Linked DNA regions of Homo sapiens: all the other regions are linked to region 2. The links are contacts of gene promoters, found by promoter capture Hi-C in human tissues and cell types (Jung and others, 2019). All regions are on one chromosome and are shown on one strand. Each heading gives the region's core, a stretch centred on a gene start or on the middle of the fragment in contact. The rest is flanking DNA. Distances are from core to core; before and after follow the strand shown.

Region 1 (5,839 bases), core at 3,050-5,549, 400 kb after region 2:
TTCAATGTGACCCTTCTGGCCCCTCTCCTCCTGACAGCGGAACAATGACTGCCCCGATAGGTGAGGCTGGAGGAAGAATCAGTCCTGTCCTTGGCAAGCTCTTCACTATGACAGTAAAGGCTCTCTGCCTGCTGCCAAGGCCTGTGACTTTCTAACCTGGCCTCACGCTGGGTAAGCTTAAGGTAGAGGTGCAGGATTAGCAAGCCCACCTGGCTACCAGGCCGACAGCTACATCCTCCAACTGACCCTGATCAACGAAGAGGGATTCATGTGTCTGTCTCAGTTGGTTCCAAATGAAACCAGGGAGCAGGGGAGTTAGGAATCGAACACCAGTCATGCCTACTGGCTCTCTGCTCGAGAGCCAATACCCTGTGCCCTCCACTCATCTGGATTTACAGGAACTGTCATAGTGTTCAGTATTGGGTGGTGATAAGCCCATTGGATTGTCCCCTTGGGGGGATGAGCTAGGGGTGCAAGGAACACCTGATGAGTAGATAAGTGGAGCTCATGGTATTTCCTGAAAGATGCTAATCTATTTGCCAAACTTGGTCTTGAATGTACTGGGGGCTTCAAGGTATGGGTATATTTTTCTTGTGTCCTTGCAGTTAGCCCCCATGTCTTATGTGTGTCCTGAAAAAATAAGAGCCTGCCCAAGACTTTGGGCCTCTTGACAGAATTAACCACTTTTATACATCTGAGTTCTCTTGGTAAGTTCTTTAGCAGTGTTCAAAGTCTACTAGCTCGCATTAGTTTCTGTTGCTGCCAACAGATCTGAACTAATGCTAACAGATCCCCCTGAGGGATTCTTGATGGGCTGAGCAGCTGGCTGGAGCTAGTACTGACTGACATTCATTGTGATGAGGGCAGCTTTCTGGTACAGGATTCTAAGCTCTATGTTTTATATACATTTTCATCTGTACTTGCACCTCACTTTACACAAGAGGAAACTATGCAAAGTTAGCTGGATCGCTCAAGGTCACTTAGGTAAGTTGGCAAGTCCATGCTTCCCACTCAGCTCCTCAGGTCAGCAAGTCTACTTCTCTGCCTATTTTGTATACTCTCTTTAATATGTGCCTAGCTTTGGAAAGTCTAGAATGGGTCCCTGGTGCCTTTTTACTTTGAAGAAATCAGTTTCTGCCTCTTTTTGGAAAAGAAAACAAAGTGCAATTGTTTTTTACTGGAAAGTTACCCAATAGCATGAGGTGAACAGGACGTAGTTAGGCCTTCCTGTAAACAGAAAATCATATCAAAACACTATCTTCCCATCTGTTTCTCAATGCCTGCTACTTCTTGTAGATATTTCATTTCAGGAGAGCAGCAGTTAAACCCGTGGATTTTGTAGTTAGGAACCTGGGTTCAAACCCTCTTCCACTAATTGGCTATGTCTCTGGACAAGTTTTTTTTTTTTTTTTTTTTTAAACCCTTTCTGAACTTTCACTTTCTATGTCTACCTCAAAGAATTGTTGTGAGGCTTGAGATAATGCATTTGTAAAGGGTCTGCCAGATAGGAAGATGCTAGTTATGGATTTACAAGGTTGTTAAGGCTGTAAGAGTCTAAAACCTACAGTGAATCACAATGCATTTACCCCCACTGACTTGGACATAAGTGAAAACTAGCCAGAAGTCTCTTTTTCAAATTACTTACAGGTTATTCAATATAAAATTTTTGTAATGGATAATCTTATTTATCTAAACTAAAGCTTCCTGTTTATACACACTCCTGTTATTCTGGGATAAGATAAATGACCACAGTACCTTAATTTCTAGGTGGGTGCCTGTGATGGTTCATTGTAGGTAAGGACATTTTCTCTTTTTCAGCAGCTGTGTAGGTCCAGAGCCTCTGGGAGAGGAGGGGGGTAGCATGCACCCAGCAGGGGACTGAACTGGGAAACTCAAGGTTCTTTTTACTGTGGGGTAGTGAGCTGCCTTTCTGTGATCGGTTTCCCTAGGGATGTTGCTGTTCCCCTCCTTGCTATTCGCAGCTACATACAACGTGGCCAACCCCAGTAGGCTGATCCTATATATGATCAGTGCTGGTGCTGACTCTCAATAGCCCCACCCAAGCTGGCTATAGGTTTACAGATACATTAATTAGGCAACCTAAAATATTGATGCTGGTGTTGGTGTGACATAATGCTATGGCCAGAACTGAAACTTAGAGTTATAATTCATGTATTAGGGTTCTCCAGAGGGACAGAATTAGTAGGATATATGTATATATGAAAGGGAGGTTATTAGGGAGAACTGGCTCCCACAGTTAGAAGGCGAAGTCGCACAATAGGCCGTCTGCAAGCTGGGTTAGAGAGAAGCCAGTAGTGGCTCAGCCTGAGTTCAAAAACCTCAAAACTGGGGAAGCTGACAGTGCAGCCAGCCTTCAGTCTGTGGCCAAAGGCCCAAGAGCCCCTGGCAACCAACCCACTGGTGCAAGTCCTAGATTCCAAAGGCTGAAGAACCTGGAGTCTGATGTCCAAGAGCAGGAAGAGTGGAAGAAAGCCAGAAGACTCAGCAAACAAGGTAGACAGTGTCTACCACCATAGTGGCCATACCAAAGAGGCTACCGATTCCTTCCTGCTACCTGGATCCCTGAAGTTGCCCTGGTCTCTGCACCTTCTAAACCTAGTTCTTAAGAGCTTTCCATTACATGAGCTGTCTCAAAGCCCTCCAATAAATTCTCAGTGTAAGCTTCTGTTGCTTGTGGACAGAAAATTCTGACAGACCTACCCTATAAGTGTTACTGTCAGGATAACATGAGAACGCACAACAGTAAGTGGTCACTAAGTGTTAGCTACGGTTATTTTGCCCAAGGTAGCATGGCTAGTTGATGCCGGTTGATGGGGCTTAAACCCAGCTCCCTCATCTTCCAGGCCTCTGTACTCCCTATTCCACTAAACTACCTCTCAGGTTTATTTTTTTAAATTCTTACTCTGCAAGTACATAGGACCACATTTACCTGGGAAAACAAGAATAAAGGCTGCTCTGCATTTTTTAGAAACTTTTTTGAAAGGGAGATGGGAATGCCTGCACCCCCAAGTCCAGACCAACACAATGGTTAATTGAGATGAATAATAAAGGAAAGACTGTTCTGGGCTTCCCAGAATAGCTTGGTCCTTAAATTGTGGCACAAACAACCTCCTGTCAGAGCCAGCCTCCTGCCAGGAAGAGGGGTAGGAGACTAGAGGCCGTGTGTGCAGCCTTGCCCTGAAGGCTAGGGTGACAATTTGGAGGCTGTCCAAACACCCTGGCCTCTAGAGCTGGCCTGTCTATTTGAAATGCCGGCTCTGATGCTAATCGGCGACCCTCAGGCAAGTTACTTAACCTTACATGCCTCAGTTTTCTCATCTGGAAAATGAGAACCCTAGGTTTAGGGTTGTTAGAAAAGTTAAATGAGTTAAGACAAGTGCCTGGGACACAGTAGCCTCTTGTGTGTGTTTATCATTATGTCCTCAGCAGGTCGTAGAAGCAGCTTCTCAGGTGTGAGGCTGGCGCGATTATCTGGAGTGGGTTGGGTTTTCTAGGATGGACCCCCTGCTGCATTTTCCTCATTCATCCACCAGGGCTTAATGGGGAATCAAGGAATCCATGTGTAACTGTATAATAACTGTAGCCACACTCCAATGACCACCTACTAGTTGTCCCTGGCACTGCTTATACATATGTCCATCAAATCAATCCTATGAAGTAGATACTGTCTTCATTTTATAGATCAGAGACAATTGGGGTTCAGAGAGCTGATGTGATTTTCCCAGGGTCACAGAGAGTCCCAGATTCAGGCACAACTCTTGTATTCCAAGACACAACCACTACATGTCCAAAGGCTGCCCAGAGCCACCGGGCACGGCAAATTGTGACATATCCCTAAAGAGGCTGAGCACCTGGTCAGGATCTGATGGCTGACAGTGTGTCCAGATGCAGAGCTGGAGTGGGGGAGGGGAAGGGGGGCTCCTTGGGACAGAGAAGGCTTTCTGTGCTTTCTCTGAAGGGAGCAGTCTGAGGACCAAGGGAACCCGGCAAACAGCACCTCAGGTACTCCAGGCCCTCCTGGCTGGAGAGGGCTGTGGCAATGGAAAATTAGTGCCAACTGCAATGAGTCAGCCTCGGTTAAATAGAGAGTGAAGAATGCTGGACAGGAACCTCCACCCTCATGTCACATTTCTTCAGTGTGACCCTTCTGGCCCCTCTCCTCCTGACAGCGGAACAATGACTGCCCCGATAGGTGAGGCTGGAGGAAGAATCAGTCCTGTCCTTGGCAAGCTCTTCACTATGACAGTAAAGGCTCTCTGCCTGCTGCCAAGGCCTGTGACTTTCTAACCTGGCCTCACGCTGGGTAAGCTTAAGGTAGAGGTGCAGGATTAGCAAGCCCACCTGGCTACCAGGCCGACAGCTACATCTTTCAACTGACCCTGATCAACGAAGAGGGACTTGTGTCTCTCAGTTGGTTCCAAATGAAACCAGGGAGCAGGGGCGTTAGGAAGCTCCAACAGGATGGTACTTAATGGGGCATTTGAGTGGAGAGGTAGGTGACATAGTGCTTTGGAGCCCAGGGAGGGAAAGGTTCTGCTGAAGTTGAATTCAAGACTGTTCTTTCATCACAAACTTGAGTTTCCTGGACATTTGTTTGCAGAAACAACCGTAGGGTTTTGCCTTAACCTCGTGGGTTTATTATTACCTCATAGGGACTTTGCCTCCTGACAGCAGTTTATGGGTGTTCATTGTGGCACTTGAGTTTTCTTGCATACTTGTTAGAGAAACCAAGTTTGTCATCAACTTCTTATTTAACCCCCTGGCTATAACTTCATGGATTATGTTATAATTAAGCCATCCAGAGTAAAATCTGTTTAGATTATCTTGGAGTAAGGGGGAAAAAATCTGTAATTTTTTCTCCTCAACTAGATATATACATAAAAAATGATTGTATTGCTTCATTTAAAAAATATAACGCAAAATCTCTTTTCCTTCTAAGGGCCTTTAATATGTAATAACAAGAGCTAATGTTGAACACAAGCCATTGCCAGGTACTTAAACTGTCTCACTTAGTCTTGCCAACCTAAGCAAGTAGATGCCATTACTATTCCCATTATATTGATGAAAAAATGAGGTTGAGAAAGGTTCAGCCGCACAGCCAAATACATAGTGGATCCAGGGTTTGGTCCCAAGTCTTGAGTCCAAAACCCTGGTTCTTACCATTACTGTGGTTCTGTAGGGGTGAAAAAATTTTTCTTCTAATCTCTTAGGTTCAGAGCCTGGGGCCTGAGAATTAAACTGACAAAGACAGATTAACAGAAGACAAAGTTTATTACGCAGGTACATGGGGTTCTTACAGAAACAAAGTGAAAACCCAAAGAAGTGGCTTGAGAGCTTATATACAATTTTAACAATGGGCGATTGTAGAAAAGTGATAAGACAAAGGAAAAGAGGTTTGAGCTTCTTGGGCAGTAAATTATGGGAAGTTAAATATGTGGGGGAAACTAATGGAAGATAAGGGTATTTTTTATTTTATTTTATTTTATTTATTTTGAGACAGGGTCCTGCCTTGTCACCCAGGCTGGAGTGCAGTGCTATGATTGTGGCTCACTGCAGCCTCAACCTCAGCCTCCTTGGTTCAAGAAATCCTCCCACTTCAGCTCCTGAGTGGCTCCAGGCAAATGCCACCACACCTGGTTAATTTTTTAAATTATTTTATAGAGACAGAATCTCGCTATGTTGCCCCTGGCTGTTCTCAAACTCTTGGCCTCAAGAGATCCCACCTCAGACTCCCAGAGTGCTGGGATTACAGGCTGGGTGCTGAGCTATCGCACATGGCCTGTATTAGCCATAGACTGAGGGGAAATACATTTTCTTG
Region 2 (5,271 bases), core at 243-2,742:
CGGAAGTTGCAGTGAGCCGAGATGGTGTGCCATTGCACTCCAGCCTAGGCGACAGAGTGAGACTCCGTCTCAAAAAAAAAAAAAAAAAAGTTCTGTGATTACCTACAGTAAAATACTGCATCATCCCAATAAATACATCAAAAAAACCATCAGAAATATCACTGTAAAAGTAACATGCTACTTAGATGTAAAAGTGACATGCTACTTAGAAACTCTGGTACCTACTGCATTATAAACATAAAGCTCATTTACTGAAACTTACCATACCTTAACTGTCCCTTCTAACCTTCCAATCCAAACAGATTTTAGCATATGTCTTACTATAAAACACTAAGTCACTGTCAAGGACCCCAATTTATACGTAAAGGAGAAAGTATAAAGAATTCAAATATCCCGAGGCAGAAAAACGACAGACAGAATTCACACTCAAGTCTTCCTGACTCCAAAGCCTGAGCTCTTCCCAGTTCGCCAATCTTCCCAACTTGTAAACCTTGTGTTGCCGGCCACATAAAGATCCCGCAAAAATCAATCAACAACTAATTAATGGGGGCTGCCTTTTGCTCTAGCTACTGTGGGAGCCCCAGAAGTAGTACCACAAGGCCCTTGACTTCAAGCTTGCATTCTTCTTGAAGAAGGTATTTAAGAGAATGAGATGAGGAACAAGAACACAGGTAAAATTAGATGTAAAAAAAAAAAAAATAGCTATACTGAGGGACCGGTCAGATGAAGGAAGGGCTGAGATTACTATGGGCTGAAGCTGTCATGGAAGGCCTGGATGGGGAAGGCCTTGAAGGAGATGATTATTTTTCGCTCACTCATTCGTCTATCTACACATAACATCTATGTGGCAGGCACCATTTTAGGTGCACTGGCAAACAAAACCAAGTCCTGAATGTGACTGCTGAATAAAGAGTATAAAGGAATGTGCACAGTGAAGGATTTAAGAACGTGGAAGGATCTGGAATCAGATTACCCTAAGTATAATGCCCAGACCTGCAGCCAGGCACTGCGGGCAAGCTCCACGGAAAACAACTGTTGTCACCCACCCATTCACCCCGACTCCCCAGTTACAGGCACTACTTAGAGGTGGTTATCGAGCCACGCAAATCCCCGAGGACGCTCGAGAAGCACGCGCCGAGAGCGGCTGCGTATTGGAGAGGTGATTCTGTTATCTTGGAGCGCCCCAAAAGAGGGGTGGAGGACAAACGGCGTAGGCCAGGTATCCGTCCGGATGCAGAGCCTTCATCCTGAGGCCGGTCCCCTCTCGACCCAGGAAGAACACAGACACCGATCTTGGCATCCATACCCGGCCCTCCCGCGTTGGGTACCTGCGCCCCGAGCCCGGGGGATCCCAGCCAGTGGAGAAGGGGAAGCACGTGGGAGCACGGAACAACTCCGAAAGAGAAGGCACAGCTGACTGCCCCTAGCGTATGCCTGGTGTCCGGGTCACGTAGTAAGCCTGGCTCCGCGGCACGCGTCCCTCTCAGGAACTGGTAGACAGCACGTGCGCAAGCGCATTAAAGTCGCAGAGATGGCGAGCGAGAAGGGACCTTCCTCAAGGCTGTCGCTGAGTAATGACGTAAGCCACCAGAAGCGGAGCTGAGGCCTAGATGTCCACTGCGGTTGCGCATTTTAGTCCCACTGCTCGCGGTAGCTGGGTGTTGGCTGCGGTTTGCCTCTTCACTCTTCATATCCCAGCTAAAGTACCTCGGCTAAGAAGGGCAAAATAGATGTCCGCACCCCAGGGCCTGCCCACGTAGGTCCAGGGTTTTCAGCGTCAGCCTGGTTACGCGAAACGCGACGGATCCAACGATTTGTGTTCAATTTAACCGATCCCCGTTAAGTTGAGGAAACTCGGCCAACAGACCTATTTTATTGGTTTCGCTTGGCCCTCCACCCCCACAGTACTGATCTTACAGATGGGAATCCTGTAATCTACCCATGACTGCGGCCGCTGTACTTTGCAGGCTCCCATTAGGCCTGTATATGGTCGTCAAATGAAATTACTCCCCCTGGGCTTCCAGTGAACTCCAAGAACATGACTACAGGGACAACCTATACATAGTGTTGCATTCTTGACTTTGGGGCAGATCGCTGAACTTCAAAAAACATTATCAACTGCTTGATGTTTCCTCCTGGATACCGCAAATGTCTGAATCCAAACCCCTTCCCCAGATACACTTTTAATGTCATCAGCAGCACTACCCATTTAATCCAACATCCATCATGAAATTTTTTAGTTCATTCAGCAAAATGTGAATATGCCCACGCACTATTCTGCTCACAAGGGATAGTGTCCAAAATGTTCCTGCCCCTCGTGGTTAATTCTAGGTTAAGTTTTAAATGCTATTAAGCAGAAGTATCCAGTGAGTAAAGTGACTAAGGATACTATTTTAGAAACGAACACTGAAGGCCTCTGACGGGGTGACACTGGATGGAACAAGGACCTGAAATTTAGAAAGAATGAGCCCTGAGAATATGAGTGAAAAACTTCCCCGTGCCAAAGATGTACATACAAAAGCTCCAAGATGGGGGAGTCCTGGCAAAGCAGTCAGTGTGGCCAAAGCAGTGGGCAAGTGAAGGACCAGATTTAGAATTTAATTCTAGTCATGATGAGAAACCACTGGAGTTTGTGGGGGACAGGGAAATGAGAAAATCTGCTTTGCCCTCTTAAAAGGCTTCCTGTTATGCAAAAACTAAATCACAGGAAGGCAAAAGTAGAAAAAGGAGAACAATTATAAGCTATTGTAGTCACCTGTGCTAGGATGGTAGTTGTGGTAGTAGTTAGAAGTATAAGATAACTCTGGATATTCAAGTTAGAACCACGTGGACTCACTTAAGGATTAGATGCAGGTTATAAAAGTACATTGAAGATGGCACCCAAAACATTTGCTCTGAGCAACTGGATGAATGAACAACTGGTGTTGGGTAATCAAGGAGTTGACTTGGAATATTGAGAAATTCATATCAAGATGTTGAATATGAGTTTTGAGAGGTTTGGGGCCTAGAAATATTCAGGACTAAAATGCTGATCATATTCAAAATCATGGGATTGGATCAGATCACCCAGGGAAGAACACAGCTAGAGATGAAGTCTGACATCCAAGACCTGGAGAAATCAGCAAAGGATACTGAGTAGTGACCAGTGAGATAGGGAATCCATAGAATCCATTCACTACCACCACCCCATCCGCACCTTAAGTTGGAATCCATTTCTCACATGGGCCACTCCAACAAGCCTCCTTACCATCTCTTGGTCCATATATGTTGTTCATTGCATTGAATGTTCTTTAAATGGTAACTTTATTAAGTGAGCCACCAACCCCACCCCAAACAATACAGCCTTTTTTTTTTTTTTTTTTTTTTTTTTTTTTTTTTTTTTTTTGTGAGACGAAGTCTCGCTCTGTCGCCCAGGCTGGAATGCAGTGGCGCGATCTCTGCTCACTGCAACCTTCACTTCCCGGGTTCAAGCGATTCTTCTGCCTCAGCCTCTCAAATAGCTGAGACTACAGGCGCATGCCACAACGCCTGGCTACTTTTTTATTTTTAATAGAGACGGGATTTCACCATATTGGCCAGGCTGGTCTCAAACTCCTGACCTCGTGATCCACCCGCCTCGGCCTCCCAAAGTGCTGGGATTACAGGCACAAGCCACCACACCCGGCCCAACACACAGCTTTAAAACCTTCAATAGTTTGCAACTGTTCTTAAGAGACAAAACATGGGATGCAACTATTATGCCGTCCATAGTAGCCTTTACCTGTTTCTCTAACCTGTAACTCTGCTAGTCCTTTCTCTTTCCACTTGATCCTGATAACTTTCTCAGTCACTGGTGATCAGATGTTTAGGTATGTTCTTCTCTCCCTTTCTTTGACTAGTCTGCTACTCCTCATCCTTCAAATCTAGCTCAATTACCCCTTTCAGTTAAGTCTCCCCTGATCATTTTAACTAGGGTATACACTCAGTCATGGCTTTAATATCTGCCATCAACCACATTGCTCCATCATGGCATCTGCTACACTTTGGTGTCATCAGTCTTTGATTAGACAGTTCAATGAAAGCAGAAACCACAGTAATTTTTGTCACCACTAAATGCCTAGTGCTTGGCATGATGCTGGGCAAAGGATACCCTAATTTGCTGAATAAAGCCTTAGTTTAGTTGCTTAATACAGTGTGTCTCCCTATTAAACACAGTACTTAAAATTGGTATTTCCAAATAAGCATTAATACACAAATGCCTTTGCTAGATGATCAGGAACAAACTGCTGATCTTCCACTGCCTCTACTCAAAACAGCCGTACTGCTTATGTAACTGGATTAAGCTTCAGAACAGCTTGTTAAAAGTAGGATATTAGTAGCAGAAGCTGAGAAGTGTATTAGATGAGGCTATCAGATTGCTTTTATAAACCTTTTCCTCTCTTCACACCAGTAGCACTTCTTCACCTACAGCTTTTGCTGGATGGTTTTTAACAACTTAAGCAGACTGCGTTCAAGGACAGTGAGAAAACCAGACTTTCATATTATTTAATCTAGTGTAATTTTAAACATTCACTAGTCTTTTGCAGTATTTTTGTAGGATTCAAAATGGAAAAAGGTATGAAGATGAGCCTTAACAATTTACTTTCGTTTTCCTGAGGGGTCTTCCTCCCCGTTAACTCCATAAAAAGGACAAGATCAAGGGCAATACTGATTCTGTGAAATCTAACTTATAATCAACTAAAATTTAGAATGCTTAAAAACAACCCAAGTGGAATGCAGATTCAGGAGCTTAAACATAAAATGAAGGGTTTGAATTCGGCACTTATCTGCATTCCACTTCCTCTAGTTATATGACGGAAAATATAATGAACAAATGTCCTAAAACACTTAGGAAGCTGACTGCTCAACTAGTTGTTAACTCATCACCTCAGTTAATGAACCTTCTGAGAATAAGCACACATTCTATGTCTCCTTTAAGTGGAAAAGTCTCCCACGTAAGAGCTGCATATAAAAGGAGACAAAAGAACTGTAGAAGCTAACTGATTAGAAATACTTAAAGGATATTTGTTTTAATATCAAGGTACAATGATTGAAAAAAAACTTTTCCATATTTTTTAGGAATTATTAGGATCTGGAAATAAAACTGCCCTAATCAAGGTAATCAATAACATTCTACCTTTTTAAGTTTTAAAAAAGAAGTTTCATATCCACATGAGATGATTTATATTATGCATATACAAAAGTATTTTGTATGTGAGCTTGCTACACCAAGAGGCTACAGTGACATGTGTG
Region 3 (5,536 bases), core at 570-3,069, 280 kb before region 2:
GGTTGCAGTGAGCTGAGATTGTGCCACTGCACTCCAGCCTGGGTGACAGAGTGAGACTCCATTTCCAAAAAAAAAAAAATTTTTAATTTTAATAAAATTTAATTATAAATTAGGTTTTTAAAAAATTATTATGAAATGTAATTATAAATTTTATAACTATGTTGAAGTATATTAAAGGACACATGATTAAATGGAAATTCATACCATATTCATTGACTGAAAGATTCAACAGGGTTTGGGATTTTGTTTTGTTTTAAAACTTGACAAGCTGGTTTTAAAACATATATGATAATGTAAAGGGCCAAAAGTATCCAAGACAATCTTGAATAAGTAGAAAAATGTCAGAGGATTTGCTCTAAGAGATATCAAGATATATAGATATCAAAGCTACAGTAGTTAAAACAATGTAGAATTGATACAGTGATAGACAAACCAAGAGCTAACATAAAAGAGAAACTAAAAAGAGACTCACACTTATGTGGACCTTGATTTAGACAGAGTGGCAATACAGTGTATGAGGAAAATGACAAGTATTTTTAATACTAATGCTGAGACACTCAATTATATATGTAAGAAGAAATAAAATTGGACTTGAAAAGATGCTGACCTCATTGGTAAGAAGGAAAATGCAATTTAAAAATCACAGTGAGACACCGCTACACACTCATCAGAATGGTTAAAATGTAAACCATCTGATGTTTATTGCGGCACTATTCACAATAGCAAAGACTTGGAACCAACCCAAATGTCCATCAGTGATAGACTGGATTTAAAAAATGTGGCACATACACACCATAGAATACTATGTAGCCATAAAAAAGGATGAGTTCATGTCCTTTGTAGGGACATGGATGAAGCTGGAAACCATTAGTCTGAGCAAACTATCACAAGGACAGAAAATCAAACACCGCATGTTCTCACTCATAGGTGGGAATTGAACAATGAGAACACTTGGACACACGTTCCCCACAGGGTGGGGAACATCACACACTGGCGCCTGTCGTGGGGTGGGGGGAGGGGGGAGGGATAGCATTAGGAGATATACCTAATGTAAATGGTGAGTTAGTGGGTGCAGCACACCAACATGGCACATGTATACATATGTAACAAACCTGCACGTTGTGCATATGTACCCTAGAACTTAAAGCACAATAAAAAAAAACGGTAAAAATAAATTTGGATATTAAATTTAAAAAAAATGTAAACCATCTGAAATACCAAGTGTTGGTGAGGGTGTAAAACAATGGGTATCCTCGGCCAGGCACGGTGGCTCACGCCTGTAATCCCAGTACTTTGGGAGGCCGAGGCGGGCAGATTACGAGGTCAGGAGATCGAGACCATCGTGGCTAACACGGTGAAACCCCGTCTCTACTAAAAATACAAAAATTAGCCGGGCGTGGTGGTGGGCGCCTGTAGTCCCAGCTACTCAGGAGGCTGAAGCAGGAGAATGGCATGATGGCATGAACCAGGGAGGCGGAGCTTGCAGTGAGCCTAGATCACACCACTGCACTCCAGCCTGGGCGACAGAGCGAGACTCCGTCTCCAAAAAAAAAAAAAATGGGTATCCTCATGTACTGTTGATAGGAGTGTAAATGGGTTCAAACACTTTGGAAAAAGATGGCATTATTTTTTAATGGGGAAGCAATGCATATCCTGTGACCTAGCAATTTAATTTCACTCCAGATACATAACATATAGGAATGTAGGTATGTCTGTGTATACAAGAATATACATAGAGACATGTACATGGTTTGTAATAACTGAAAACTGGAAATAATCCAAACATCCAGCAACAGGAGAATGCAACTTTTGTGTGATATTTTCATGCAATGGAATGCTATATAGCAATGCAAATAAACAACAGCTACATACCACATGAGTGGATGTTAAAAACAGTCAAGAAACAAGACAACAAAAACACTGCAAAATTACATACTAAAATTGAAAATGGGCAAACTTAAAATGCATTGTTTAGGATGCTTACAAAGGTGGAAAAATTATAAAGAAAAGCAAGGATGTGATTACTATAAATGTAAGAGAGAAAAAAAAGTGATGCAGACAGGAAGAAGTAGCAGGATGGAGAAATCACATAAAAAGTCATACAAAGGGAGGTCTGGGGACTGTCAATTTCCATTGGTGCTATTCAGCAGGACTTCCTGTAATGAAGAAACTGCTCTAGATCTGAGATGTCCAACACTACAGCTTCTTGTCATATGTGGCTACTGAGAACTGGAAATGTGGCTAGTGTGACTGAGGAGATAAATTTTAATATTATTTCGGCCAGGCGTGGTGGCTCAGGCCTGTAATCCCAGCACTTTGGGAGGCTGAGGTGGGTGGATCACCTGAGGTCAGGAGTTCAAGATCAGCCTGGCCAACATGGTGAAACCCCATCTCTACTAAAAATACAAAAATTAGCTGGGCATGGTGGCAGGCACCTGTAATCCCAGCTACTTGGGAGGCTGAGGCAGGAGAATCGCTTGAACCCAGGAGGCAGAGGCTGCAGTAAGCTGAGATCGTACCATTGCACTCCAGCCTGGGCGACAGAGCAAGACTCCGTCTCAAGAAAAAAAAATTAATATTATTTCATTTTAGTTATTTAAAATTTAAATATAAATAGCCCAATGGCTGCTGTTTTGGACAATGCAGCATCTAGTTTGTATCGATCAAGTTTCCAAAGGGAAACAGAGGGCTCACTCAAAATAGAGTAGTGGTCTTTAAAAGGTTTCAGAGAAGAAAAAAGAAACAAAAGAAAAATAGAGTCATTTAAGGAGGATTCATTTATGAGACAGCTAATCACAAAGGTACAGGTATAGGGGAGACACAAGAGATGGTTTTGCAACCTAAGGCTAATGGTAGCCAACCATTAATGTGACCATCCCTAGACCTGAAGGGACAAGGAAAAGATGTGATTCCTAGAAGGAGAGAAAATTAAGTAGATTCTGCCATGTTAAGAGGAGCAGTGACCTTTAGTGGAGAAACCCAGTCAGCCAGAGGTAATATCACATTAGGAGCCAAGGGAATATAAGCCTTAACACCACTCTCTTTTCCTCCCTACAATCTCCTGCTGTGTCTCCCCATCAGCCAGGCCCAAGAGGAAGTCAGAGGGGAAAATTGCTCACAGATCCACACAGGTCAGTCTCCCAGATCAATGTCAGATGGTGGCTAGATCTAGGGGACAAATAAAAGATGCCCAGCACATGGATCTTGACTGAGATGCTTGCTGCGTTATTATTACACTATACATTTTTTACTGTAAGAGATTATAGTATAAAAAAGAAAAGGGAGAAGAGAAGGTAGAAAGGAAAGAAGGAAAAGGAAGGAGAGAAGGGAAGGAAGGAAGCAAGCAAGGAGGGAGGAAGAAGGGAGGGAAGGAAGGAACTAAAAGAGGAAAAATTAAAAAGAAAGTGAATAGAAAGGAAAGAAAATAAACCCGACCAACTAGCTCCTGCATTATGTACTAGTAAGAATCTGATGGATTTATCAACTGAAAAATAGTAACCAAAAGTCTGAATAAATGGTTGTCATCAAATGTTTTTGTCAAGTCAGTAAAATAATACAGCAATTTTTTTTTTTTTTTAGACGGAGTCTCGCTCTTTCACCCAGGCCGGACTGCGGTGGCGCTATCTCGGCTCACTGCAACCTCTGCCTCCTGGGTTCACGCCATTCTCCTGCCTCAGCCTCCCGAGTAGCTGGGACTACAGGCGCCCGCCACCACGCCCGGCTAATTTTTTGTATTTTTAGTAGAAACAGGGTTTCACCATGTTAACCAGGATGGTCTCGATCTCCTGACCTCGTGATCCACCGCCTCGGCCTCCCAAAGTGTTGGGATTACAGGCGTGAGCCACCGCACCCAGACTAATATAGCATTTTTAATGCTATATATTGCATTTCTTAACCTATGATGAATCTTAGACAATGGTCTCCATTTTTTAGTCTTATTGTCTTTCTTTTTAAAGTCACCAGAAATTAAGTAAAGGACGTATAACATGCTCAGAAATGCTATGAACAGGTACCCACAATTGGGTGGGTCTTTGATTTTGTTTGCCTTCCTGTAGTGTTGGAACCGTACTTCAATGTTCTGGGTAAAACTAGAGCCAGGAAAATGAACTATGCGCACATAGTTCATTTTGAAATGCAAAATGCAAAATGAAAATGTGCACATCAATTAGGAATGCTTTGGCTGAAAGTGAAAGACAATCTGGCTAACTGTGGTTTAACACATAGGGATTATTTTTCTACCTATTAAAAAAGTGATATAGGCAACTGCTGGCGTTGATTCAGTGACCCCATAATTTCAGGTCCAGCATCTCTGCAGTTCTTCTGTTCTCTTCCTCCCAATCACAAATGACCAAGACATCACCAAGTATAAAGATTAAGGCACCAGAGGCAGGTAGGAGGAGGCATTGCAAGGTACAAGTGTCAACATTTTGCTTTTATCAGAAAAGCAAAAGCTTTCTCCACAAACCACCAACAGACCACTGCCCACATCTCATGGTCTAGAACTGTGCCACCCCTAGCTGCAAGGAGGCTGGGAAAGTGAATATTTAGTTTTCTCAGCCTTTATAGGGAAGTTGGCAAGAGATAAGAAAACTGGAAACAGCTATTAGTGAAGCCAGCTAAGCTTTAATGCCTAAAATATTCTCCCTGCAACGTCCAAAATATCTACCATGAAAATGAATTCTTTGGCATTAAAAATAACTTTTAGAAGGCATCTATTTACATATACATGTTTCCTGGAAGGATGATGTAGCAACACACTGGTGCCCATTATCATTTTAGCATTAATTTATTTCTGAAGATTTGCTAGTATTTGCCTAGTACAAAGCCAAGTGTTAAGAGAATAAGATAACTAGGCTTCAACATAGTAAAAATATGCCAGGAAAATTCCAGACACCATCAGTGAACCTTATTAGTTTCAATAAGCAGGTGAAGGCATTACATTTAGCAAGTAGGCAGGGCAGGAAACACTAAAATACATTTCACCCACTGCATTATGTCTAGGATCAGCCTCAAAGCCAGCTCCTGAAGGGCATAGCAGATTGCATCTAATATGTGCCATCAAAACTGGCCCACTACTCCTTTTCAGCCTATCCGGAATCAAGCAGGCATGAAAAATGGACATCATGGAGATGTGATGACAGAAGGCACATACCTAGATTTCTTTCCTCATAGTACAGTGGTTGTTAAGAGCACAGAGTCTAGAACTAGCTAGATTCTTGGGCTCCAAATCCTGGCTCTACTAGCTCTATGACCTTATCAAGTTACTGACCATCACTGTGCTTTGGTTGCCTCATCAGTGGAAAAGATCATAGGGTTGTGATGAGAAAAACAAGTTAATAAATGTAAATAAATATGCATGGTGCATAGTAGGTACTATATAAGAGCTGGCTGCAAAAAATAAGGCCTTTCTCCTGTGATCCCATTAGTATTATGCTTTCATATTTATATGTTTTTGGTAAAGTCTTCCTTTTCTTCTTTTTCTTATATAAGAACAACATAGTTTCACTACAAAGAACTCAGAAAGGACAGGGAAGCA
Region 4 (5,517 bases), core at 681-3,180, 390 kb after region 2:
TGGAGGAAATTGTGTGCTTCTGAGTCAACTTCTATAACAGTGGAAACACACATGCTTCATTGTAAAGATCAAGTGTGGTTGTCTGCCTGTGTCATGTTGGTATAATATCTTGGCCACTGCTGGTTTTTTGTTTTTTATAAATATGGTTGGTGGGGGGAGCAGAAAAGAAAGTGGCAATACAGTGAGCAATTTAAAAAAAGATTTCCACACCACTGTAGCATGTCTTAGAATATTAACAGCAACCATATATTCACTGTTTATTGTTTACTGGGGACTGTGCCAGAGCCTGTCTCATTTAAATCCGTCCAGCCATTCCGGGAGGTCGGTACTGTTACCTCCCATATTACAGCTGAGGAAATGAAGGCAAAGTAGTAACTTGGCGCCAGGACACACTTTAATATGTTCTCCCTTTCTGAGCAGAAAGAGAAGTCATGGCACCCCTTCTTCCCCACCTTCCGTGATTCTAGCCAGGGTGCACTGTAATGTGGTTCACCTGTGTTAAAACACTATATTTTTTCTATAATTATTTTTTATTTATTCATTTTTCTTGGTTCCTTCTTTTTTTCTGTCTCTGCTGCTTAAGTTGGAATATTTTCTAGAATTTTAATAGCCCAGTGACATCCTACTTCCAGCAGTCTGCATTTGTTTATGGAGCAAGCTTGGGACCATCAGCTTCTCTGTGACAAGTCTTGGGGTGCACTTCAGCCCTTTCTCAGAGAATTGAGATGTGAAGCTCACATGCCCACAGATGAGAGGCCTTCTTTGCTGCTGCCCAAAAGGGTCTCAGGACCCTGCAGGGGAACTTTCCTCTGAGCTCTGCCTCTTATGGCCCAGGGGAAACCTCGTCTACCCTGGCTTAGTGGCTAAAATATCAAACCATTGTCCACTGACCTATTGCTTGTTTTTTTTTGTTTGTTTTTTTCAGGGGGATGGAGTCTCACTCTGTCGCCCAGGCTGGAGCGCAGTGGCGCGATCTCGGCTCACTGCAACCTCCGTGTCCCAGGTTCCAGCGATTCTCCTGCCTCAGTCTTCTGAGTAGCTGGGATTACAGGAGCATGCCACTATGCCTGGCTAATTTTTGTATTTTTTTTTATTTACTTTTTAATTTTTGTATTTTTAGTAGAGGCGGGCTTTCACCATGTTGGCCAGGCTGGTCTGGAATTCCTGACCTCAAATGATCCACCTACCTCAGCCTGCCAAAGTGTTGGGATTACAGGCGTGAGCCATTGCACCTGGCCCTGTTGCTTGTTTTTGACCTCAGTTTCCACCATAATCTAGAGTTTCCTTCTCTTCCCACTCAGGTCAATTAGAAGAACATCATGGTTAACCAAGCTTGGATTTTAGAACTGACAGCCTGAGTTTGAGCTCAGCTCGGTCACTTAGTAGCTGTGTGGCTTTGAACAATTTAGTTAACATCTTAGTCTTAGTTTTCTCTTGCAAGGTGGGGATGAAGATAATTGAGCCTAGTTCTCTTAACAATCCTATGAAGAGCTTAGCACATAGATGCACATATATTTGAACACTGAATGAACATGTTTGCCATGAATATTTTTGCCCACAGACGTTCCAACCATGGGTTTTAGCCTTTCCTTCTAAAGCTTTCTTAAGAGGCCAAATGAGCCCGGGATCTAGCCACCACAAAAATCCATGTCTACAGGTAACCTTTTAAAATGGCCCTCAAACATGGCCAGTCTCAAGAACAACACCCTTCATCTTAGACTCTTTTCATTTCATGCGTGTGAATACATGTCTGGCACAAGGAAGGGACCAAAGAAAAATTGCATCTTTGCGCCTTCTCCTTGTGGCTTCCCTCTCACACGGGCATGACAGCCACAGGCTGACAGTGGGGGAGAACAAACAAAGCCTGGTGGATGGGGCCCTGCCCACAGGCCCCAGGGCTGCCGCCAGCTCTGCTGCTTTGTAGCCAGGTGTCCTTGTGTGAGTCACATCACCTCTCCAGACATCTGTCTTGTCATCTGCAAAAAAGTTGGGGAGGAGGTTGGTTTTTATTTTATTTTATTTTATTTATTTTTTAGACATGGTCTCGCTCTGTCTCCCAGGCTGGAGTGCAGTGGTGCAAGCTTGGCTCACTGCACCCTCCACCTCCCAAGCTCAAATGATTCTCATGCCTTAGCCTCCTGAATAGCTGGGATTACAGGCATGTACCACCATGCCCGGCTAATCTTTGTATATTTTGTAGAGGCGAGGTTTCACCATGTTGGCCAGGGTGGTCTCAAACTCCTGGCTACAAGTGATCCACCCACCTCGGCCTCCCAAAGTGCTGGGATTGTAGGTGTGAGCCGCCACACCTGGCCTAGTTTGTTGTTGTTTTTTAAAACTAATATTTCAAGGCATTAATCTGTAACCTTCACAAGTCAGAGGATCCTCTATTGGGTAGGATTTCACACCTGTGAGGGCAGACATGGCCATTTCAGATGCTCTAGAGAACTGGGTTCCTGTGTGTGCTCAGAAAGTGAGGACCCACCTTGCTTCCACTGGACTTTCCACTGAAAAATCTATTTCCATGGTGATAAACCTAGCCTTCAGCCTTAGAACTAGAAGTCAGCTGTTGGGCTCTAAAACCCACACTTGGTTTAACCATGACATTCTTTTGTGAGATTTTACGTGTTTCATCTTTGAAAATGTCTTTTCACAGAGGTAGGTACTTCCAAATACTGATTACATGGTAGAAGTCATATGGCATGAAGATAGTTTATCTCTGATGATGGAAAAGGGGGTATCCATACAAACCAGGAAGATTTCCTTCCAACTCTTGCTTCCTCAGTCTCTCCCCATCACACGTGTGGACTGTAACTCATCTTTTTGTTGTCACTGTTGTTACAAAAATGGAGAAGGAAAAATAACCCAGCAAAAACTGACAGCTAGCAAGGATGAGTCTTAAGAATTGACTGGGAGCAATAATTGTTTTTCAAACTAGGGAACTGGAGGCAATTTGCTTCTGATGTAAGATGACCCTCACGTTGTGTCTGCTGGTACCCAGCTGTCCTATGCCCATGGGTTTAAAGTGCACAGCTGTTGTCTTGTCTTTGACAGTGTGTACTCCTGGCATTCGGTCAGTCCCTTAGAAGGGGGTAGTTCAGTAATGATACCCTGTCCCAGAGGTTACCAAACTTTTTCTGTACAGGACCAGATAGCAATTTTTTTTTTTTTTTAAACAGAGTTTTGCTCTGTCACCCAAGCTGGAGTGCAGTGGTGCAATTGTGGCTCACTGCAACCTCTGCCTCCTGGGTTCAAGCGATTCTCCTGCCTCAGCCTCCCAAGTAGCTGGGATTATAGGTGTGCACCACCATGCCTGGCTAATTTTTTTATTTTTAGTAGAGATGGGGTTTCGCTATGTTGGCCAGGCTGGTGTCAAACTCCTGACCTCAGGTGATCCACCCTCCTCGGCTTCCCTAAGTGCTGGGATTACAGGCGTGAGCCACTGCGCCTGGCCCAGATAGTAAATATTTTAAGCTTTGCAGACCAAGAGGCAAAATCAAGGGTATTATGAGACTTACCTCAATAATAAGAAACAAAATTTTCACAGATTTTTTTATTGACAAAATTCATAACATAATTATTGAGTCCAGCATAATAATACACATCTACTAATGAGGGGAATAGAATTCTTTTTAGGGGGATAACCATTTGCTTAATTGGGGTTCAAAATTAGTGTTCCCTCGCATCAAATCAATTGCAGATGTTCATCTATTAATACTAATCTGTGATGACATTTTACATATTTCATTTTGAAAATGTATTTTCACGCAGATAGGTATTGCCAGACATTGATCATCAACCCACGAGGATGTGATTTAATTGGGCATATTCATTGCTTGGAAGACACTTATAGAATTCTGTTTGTTTCTCGGTAATTTCTTCTTAACACATCATTACATTGCAGACTAATCTCCTTCCAGTTGCAGGTTAGGAGGAAGCTTCTCAATTGCACAGTTAGATGGATATTCAAATGTGGATATTTCCTTTGTGCTTGCATCAGGGTCCAAAAAATGTTGCTGGAACTGTAGTTTGAATTTGGAAAGATATAACTGCTATACATTTGTGCGGGAGTGGAAGTATACCACAAGTTGCTGACTTTGGGCCCATATTAATGGAGATGGTGGGCTGCCAGGGGACAAGTCAGTGCTGCTTTAAGAGATCCTGACTTTCTTCCTGATTCTAGGTCATAGCCTGCAGTGCTACAACTGTCCTAACCCAACTGCTGACTGCAAAACAGCCGTCAATTGTTCATCTGATTTTGATGCGTGTCTCATTACCAAAGCTGGTAAGAGCCTCCCCTGTCTGTCTCCTAAATGTAATGGGGTAATAAGTGCCTGGGAAAAAAATTGTGCCACTGTAATCCTCATTAGGCTTGCATCAAGTAATAGCTACCATTTATTAGCGTCAGGTGTGTATTGGGCTAAGCACTTTCTTCATACATTTTAAATTTAATGTTTTGCACTTCTAAGGGTGATCTTTTATTTCCATTTGATAAATGTGGAAATGGAGGTTCAGATTAAGCAAGAAATTATGGTTAAGTAACCGACTCAGGAATTGAACATGGAAGTCCATCTGATTCCAAAGCTTGTGCTCTTTTACAGCAGCCCTGTGCTGCCTCCCAGACCTTGGAGAACCTACTGTGTGCCCAGCAGAGGGTTAGGAGCTAGGGATGCAAAGATAAAGAAAGGACACATACAATTAAAATTATGACAAAGGCCTGTTTGGCTGTCCTAAATGTCATTATATATGCCTCTGTCTCATTCCATGGGGTATCTGGTATATTCAGAGTCCTGAGGAGACTCAAGCTGAGCTCAAAGGACACGTAGGAGGTAAGAGGGCTAAGAAGGGAAGGGTGTGCCTGGGAGGGGCAACAGCAGGTGCCAGGGCTCGGTAGCCTCAGAGCAAGGTGCTCATGAATTTGGGGATGGGCAATGCTAACATGCACAAGTCCTGTCCAGTCTGCATTTTCCAAATTTGTTAGACTACAGAATATTCACCTCCATCACCCTGTTAAAATAGAGTTTAGGAAGTGGTAGACAGAGGAAAGAAACCAGCAAAGACATGCCCTCTGTTCTTGCTGGGGTGTGGTTCTGGATAGAATCGATGTGTGCAAATGATGCCAGCGAGGAATGGCAGTTTCAGAATGTTCTTAGTGTCCAAGGTAAAACCCTCAGGCTTAGATTTCTAAGAGATTAATAATAAAAACACTCCACAAGGTTATTTGTACTCTTAGACCTTCTACACCAGCTCCCCCCAGTGTCAACATCAAGAAATGGTGAACATGTCAGGTAAACTCAGAAAAGCCTTGGGACACCCACATGTTCAGAAAAACCTGAGATAAAGATGATTAACTTCCCCAGAAAGGAGAAATCCCTCAATAACTAAAGACAAATTATAGTTACCCTGTCTAAAAAAACAGGGGCATCTGATAATTTTGATATATTTAGCTGGATTTGATAAATTTGATATAGTTTAGCTGGATTGCAGCTAAAACTCCAAACCTTCCATTCAGAGCTC
Region 5 (5,580 bases), core at 2,129-4,628, 300 kb before region 2:
TCGCCATTCAGGTCATTGTGTAAATAAAGGAAATCTATTCAAAAGTTTTTTGAAACATTAATTAAATTAAATTAATTTAATTTAATTTAATAAAGTAAATTAAAATTTTCACTTCCAGGCCAGGCGCGGTTGCTCACGTCTGTAATCCCAGTACTTTGGGAGGCCAAGGCGGGTGGATCACTTGAGGTCAGGAGTTTGAGAGCAGCATGGCCAACAGGATGAAACCCCATCTCTACTAAAAGTACAAAAATTAACCAGGCATGGTGGGGTATGCCTGTAATCCCAGCTACTCAGGAGGCTGAGGCAGGAGAATCACTTGAACCTGGAGGCAGAGCTTGCAGTGGGCCAAGATTGTGCCACTGCACTCCAGCCTGGGCCACAGAGGGAGACTCCATCTCAAAAAAAAAAAAAAAATCTTTTCCAAAAACAGATATTAGTAGCATTTTTAAAGTGACATTTCACTATCTAAAGAACTAAAACCATTAGTCTCGCCAAGCGTCCCATTATATCCATCTTTTCAGCATCTGGAGCATTGACATGCATGTCTATAGTGGAAACCTCGTCCTTTTGTCACATATACAGAGGACACCTGATTCACTGATTAGTGTTATGTGACAGGGTGACAACAAATGTAAATAGACTAAACCATCACATTTTCCTTCCCAAGTCCATTTTATCTTTTAAGGTTTGACCCAGTGTTTTTGTTGTTGTTGTTGTTTGTTTTTTTGTTTTTAATATACTATGACTAGCTTTTCAGCAGAAGAAATTTTGAATCTATCTCCCAAAATTATTTGATTCTTGTAGGCAACTAGTTCTGCTCTGCCCCTTGAGTATCAGCTATTGTAGATGGCGCAGGACTGTCACAAAATTTGCGGCTCAGGTTGTTCTCATGTTATCAAATGGTCCTTGACACTGTCAAGTTGGGTGGGTGTTGTGCCATTGCTTTTCCCCCATCTGAGGGTAGTGCCATTTATAAAAATACTCTGAAATCTCTAATCCCCGCAATGACCACTCCTAACTGCTGCCTCCTTGAGCTCAACAGAGATTTGTGCTCCAACAACTTCTCTTACTAGCACCATAGCATGGATCTTTCTTCCTTCCACTCTGTGAACCTCAATAGTATGGCACCGCCTTTATCCCTCAAATGTATTTTTGTTTGTTTGTTTGTTTGTTTGTTTGTTTTGGAGATAGAGTCTTACTCTGTCACCCATGCTGGAGTGCAGTGGCACAATCACAGTTCACTGGGAGGATCACTTGACCTCCCAGGCTCAAGTGATTCTCCCACCTCAGCTTCCCCAGCACATGTCACAACACCCAGCTAATTTTTGTATATTTTGTAAAGACACTACAGTTTAGCCACGTTGCCTAGCTGGTCTCAAACTCCTGGCCTCAAAAGATTCTCCCACCTTGACCTTCCAAAGTGTTGGGATTACAGGCATGAGCCACCATGCCCAGCCTCAAATTATTTTCATCTTCTCCTTAATTATTTCCATCCATGTTGTGGGGCCAGGGATTGCCTAACTCCAGACAGGCTGTCACTCTTTTCTCCTTTGACTTCTTAGGTAACATCACTTTTTATGCTTGAGGCTGGCTTTGAAATGTTAATATCTTGTTAAGACTCCAGTCACATTTGAATGAAAAGGGAATTTTATGGGTAGATCTGGAAATCTATTGCTTATATCATCATTTTCATGAGAATGAATATTTCAAGTTTAAATATAAGTGGAAGGAGCTAGCTAGGGCTACCAGACATTTTTGCCAAGTCAGCAGACCTGTTAGAGAACCCTAAAGAAGAAACAGAAAGTAAGAAAGAAACAAACAGAGCCCACAGAGAACATTCAGGGAACATTCAGGGATCCAATAATGGACGATGTTTCTCCAGTGGCTCTTATGTAAACCCCTATCTCCTGCATACACTGCTGCACCTCTCCTTAGGTTAAAGCCCCTTCTTTCTCCCAGCCTCTGTTGCTCCCTGCCAGGACCTTTGATCCTTTCCAGCTTCCACTGTGAGTTGGATCAATTACAGTGTGTCTCCAGGTCATCGCTTAGCTTACTTCACTTGACAACTGGACATTTTCTGCTTGCTCCTCCAGATTTAATCTCCATCCTCCTCCATTCTAATCTGTACTCTGTGAGTCTTTTTTTTTAATTGACACAAATAATTGTATATATTTATTGGGTAAAAGATGATGTGTTTTGAAATACGTGGACATTGTGGGATGGCTAAATCGACTAATTAACCTGTGTGTGGCCTCACATACTTATCATTTTTTTGTTGTGAGAACATTTAAAATCTACTCTTTTAGCAATACTCAAGAATACATTAACTATAGTCTCCATATCGTACAATAGATTTATTGAACTTTTCTTCCTGATGAACTGAAATTTTGTGTCCTTTGACCAATATCTCCCCAGCACTCTTCACCTGCAGCCCCTAGCAATCACCATTCTACTTTCTGCTTCTATGAGTTCAACATTTTTAGATTCTACATATAAGTGAGAATCTGTGCCTGGCTTATTTCACTTAACATAATGTCCTCCAGGTTCATCCATGCTGTCACAGATAACATGTGACACTTTGTAAGTTAGTTAATGAGATGTCAGTATGGTCCATCTAAATATTAATGGAAGGCAAGTGCTCCCCTACTGTTGAACTTCACTTCTGAAGGCAGGTATCAGAAAAATAAAGGAGGAAAAAACTACAATGTATCTAACTATGACTTATGTTATTGAGAAATTAAAGTGCATATTGAAGCTGTCAATCTCAACATTGCCAACCATCATTCAAACATAGGATGTGTTTATGATGAAGCATCTTAAAGCATCCTGGGAAAATTACAATGATGACTCCCAACTTTCCATTAGCTAGGAATGTAAAGAGTTACAAATATGTGTCCAACCATAAAGATATTTGACATGAATATGTTGAGCTCTAAACAAGAAAAGTAATTTTGGACAAAACAATATCATTAAATGCTGAGAGAAGTTCTTCTATTTTAATAACTGAATTTAGGAAAAACAAGTCCCTCTGCTATTTGCTGGCTGGATTGGGCTAAGGGCGGACCTGGTTTTTGTAACTCTCCCCACCCTTCTTGGGATGTGTCCAGCCCAGTGGGCAGCCTTGTTCTGGAATATCCAGTTAAGCTGGATTGCTGTGGGGGGTGGAGTTACAGTTGCACTTTTTCAACCTAAGAACAGGATGCACCAACACAATCCCTGATTTTCCTTAATTTTTCCAGGGCCTTGATCTTCTTTTGGGATCCACAGAAAACTACCACTGGCACATGGGGGAGTTGATGGTGATAAATTCCAAGGGTAACTGGGAAGAAAAACAACCAAGATCCACTGGAGAAGTCAGTTATTGTTAGGTCAGGCAACATCAACACAATAGACATCTGTTCCATTGAGAAAAAAGAACTCTGTTGAACTGATGAAGCTGTCAGCATAAGTCATGCTCTTTGGGCATGTCATAAAACGACCTGACCTTCAGAGAGGAGGCTGGGGTATCAGAATCCTCATTCCTACCATCAGTGGAATCTGTCATGGTAGAATTTCTTTCCCTGTGTGGTTCCCCCAAATGTACACTGATTATTAACTTTTAAATTCATAGCTTAGGAACTATAGGAGGATCTAGCTCTGCACTGAAAATAATGAAATTCTGCTGGCTAGCCAACCCTCAGTTGTTCCAGATTCAACAGGTTTCTATTGGGTATCTATGCATGCAAATACCAGAGGTTCAACAGTTAACAAGACAGTCATGATCCCTGTGCTATGGATCTTAAGATCTAGTTGTCCTCCTGTTAGCAATATCACCGTATCAAGAATCAATCAACTGTTCCCAATTGACTGAGCTGGAATGAACTGCCCAATCCCCTCCATTTATCAATTTAAAAATAACTCTGAATAGGTTATATCTGTGTATATAGGGTTCAAAACTAATTAAAAGAGAGGACTAGAACCCAGGTCTACTGACTCCCAGACCTTCCCTGTTTGTTGATACTCTGCCCTCCTTTCTACCTACTCCCAAAAAAAGCTTAATTTCCCATGTAGAGTCCTTACACTGGTAAATGTCTGCTGACACATGCAGGAGTCAATGATTATTGACTCTGGCAAAAGCAATACGTTGTCTAGTATATTTACCAACTACTAGAACACAGTGGTGACATAAATTTGTTTTTCATGAAACTTTCTCTATTTCTGAAAGCAAAGTCCACTAGAAAGCCGAACTCGTGGAAAGTATTTCACATAAAATTGTATTTGATGGACATACTTAAAGGGCAAATATTAAATTATGGCTTTAATCTCTATTCTTTTATATATGTCAAGAAAGCCTCATCAAATCTTACCTTTCATATGCATGAAATATTCCTTTAAAGTTGGCTTATCAGATTACTAAAAGAACTTCTGTACCAAAGATTTTTTTAAAATGTGCTAGGCTAAGACAACATTGTGAGATATATTTAGGAGTAGGAAAAAAGGCTGAATTTCCCTTTTTTTTTTTCCTTCTTCTCCTTTCAGGGATCCAGTGAACTCAATGTCCTTTAGTAAATGTACCAGGTAGAGCAGTTGAATTCATGAGAAAATCATCAAGTAGTCAATATTCTGGTTGTCTCAAAAGGATTTCTTTTTAAAAAAAGAAGACCCAAGGAAAACACTATCAATAGAAAGCATTGAATGCTCATAAGGAATTTAGGCAATACCAGGAAAGTGTGTTTGGGGTGAGGGGAAGGGTGAAGAGGGAGAAGTGGAGAAATGGGAGGGTAGAGGGAGAGAGAAGTGGAGAGATGGGAGGGGTGGAGAGAGAGAGAAGTGTGGAGATGGGATGGTGGAGGGAGAGAGAAGTGGAGAGATGGGAGGGTGGAGAGAGAGAGAAGTGGAGAGATGGGAGGGTGGAGGGGGAGAGATGGAAGATTGGAGGGAAAGAGAAGTGGAGAGATGGAAGGGTGGAGGGGGAGAGATGGAAGGTTGGAGGGAAACAGAAGTGGAGAGATGGAAGGGGTGGAGAGAGAAGTGTGGAGATGGGAGGGTGGAAGGAGAGAGAAGTAAGGAGATAGGGTGGAGAGAGAGAGAAGTGGAGAGATGAAAGGGTGGAGGGAAACAGGGGTGGAGGGAGACAGAAGTGGAGAGATGGAAGGGGTGGAGAGAGAGAGAAGTGTGGAGATGGGAGGGTGGAGGGAGAGAGAAGTGGAGAGATGGGAGGGGTCGAGGGAGAGAGAAGTAAGGAGATGAAACGGTGGAGGGAGAGAGAAGTGGAGAGATGGGGGGTTGGAGGGAGAGAGAAGGAGATGGGGGTGGAGGAAAAGAGAAGTGGGGAAATAGGAAGGTAGAGGGAGAGAGAAGTGAGGAGATGGGAGAGAAGGGAAAAGGAAGTTACTTTCACTTTTTCTCTCAATCCAGTGGGGAAGATGTTGATATCAGTCCTATGTCATGGATGAGGAAATTGAAGTTCACATTTGTCGCTTGCTGAAGGTCACGTGACCAGAAATGCAAAGCCCGATCTGACTCATATTCTCCTAATTATAAATGTTACGTGCTTTCTATTACTCAGGCATTGCTACTCTTTCGGTTGTGCCAGGAATG

Evidence for each region. The method cuts DNA at HindIII sites, captures the fragments that hold promoters and counts their contacts. A contact is called where the count stands out against the background at its distance.
Region 1: a contact is called between a fragment that was not itself captured here and the fragment with the promoter of NAT10 in region 2, in 1 of the 25 tissues and cell types used here (aorta).
Region 3: a fragment that was not itself captured here is called in contact with the fragment with the promoter of NAT10 in region 2 in 1 of the 25 tissues and cell types used here (liver).
Region 4: a fragment that was not itself captured here is called in contact with the fragment with the promoter of NAT10 in region 2 in 1 of the 25 tissues and cell types used here (hippocampus).
Region 5: a contact is called between a fragment that was not itself captured here and the fragment with the promoter of NAT10 in region 2, in 1 of the 25 tissues and cell types used here (neural progenitor cells).

Annotation. Positions count from the first base shown.
Region 1 is chr11:33,702,130-33,707,968 of GRCh38, reverse strand. CD59 (CD59 molecule (CD59 blood group)) reads left to right here. Exons shown (of 4, transcript NM_000611.6): 4 at 1-4,959. It also overlaps a transcript of C11orf91 not described here. Among named protein-coding and RNA genes, the nearest start is that of C11orf91, 4.2 kb to the right of the region's middle. The HindIII fragment of the contact is 4,215 bases long and covers 2,192-5,839 here.
Region 2 is chr11:34,101,850-34,107,120 of GRCh38, reverse strand. It overlaps NAT10 (N-acetyltransferase 10), which reads right to left and starts at 1,492. Exons shown (of 29, transcript NM_024662.3): 1 at 1,329-1,492. CAPRIN1 (cell cycle associated protein 1) reads right to left here. Exons shown (of 19, transcript NM_005898.5): 19 at 4,511-5,271. RefSeq lists an enhancer at 1,280-1,739. The HindIII fragment of the contact is 6,988 bases long and covers 1-5,271 here.
Region 3 is chr11:34,381,679-34,387,214 of GRCh38, reverse strand. No RefSeq gene overlaps it. Among named protein-coding and RNA genes, the nearest start is that of ABTB2, 26 kb to the right of the region's middle. The HindIII fragment of the contact is 5,435 bases long and covers 1-4,536 here.
Region 4 is chr11:33,716,138-33,721,654 of GRCh38, reverse strand. It overlaps CD59 (CD59 molecule (CD59 blood group)), which reads left to right. Exons shown (of 4, transcript NM_000611.6): 3 at 4,184-4,285. Among named protein-coding and RNA genes, the nearest start is that of CD59, 18 kb to the left of the region's middle. The HindIII fragment of the contact is 4,662 bases long and covers 1-4,261 here.
Region 5 is chr11:34,405,155-34,410,734 of GRCh38, reverse strand. No RefSeq gene overlaps it. Among named protein-coding and RNA genes, the nearest start is that of CAT, 31 kb to the left of the region's middle. The HindIII fragment of the contact is 7,882 bases long and covers 1-5,580 here.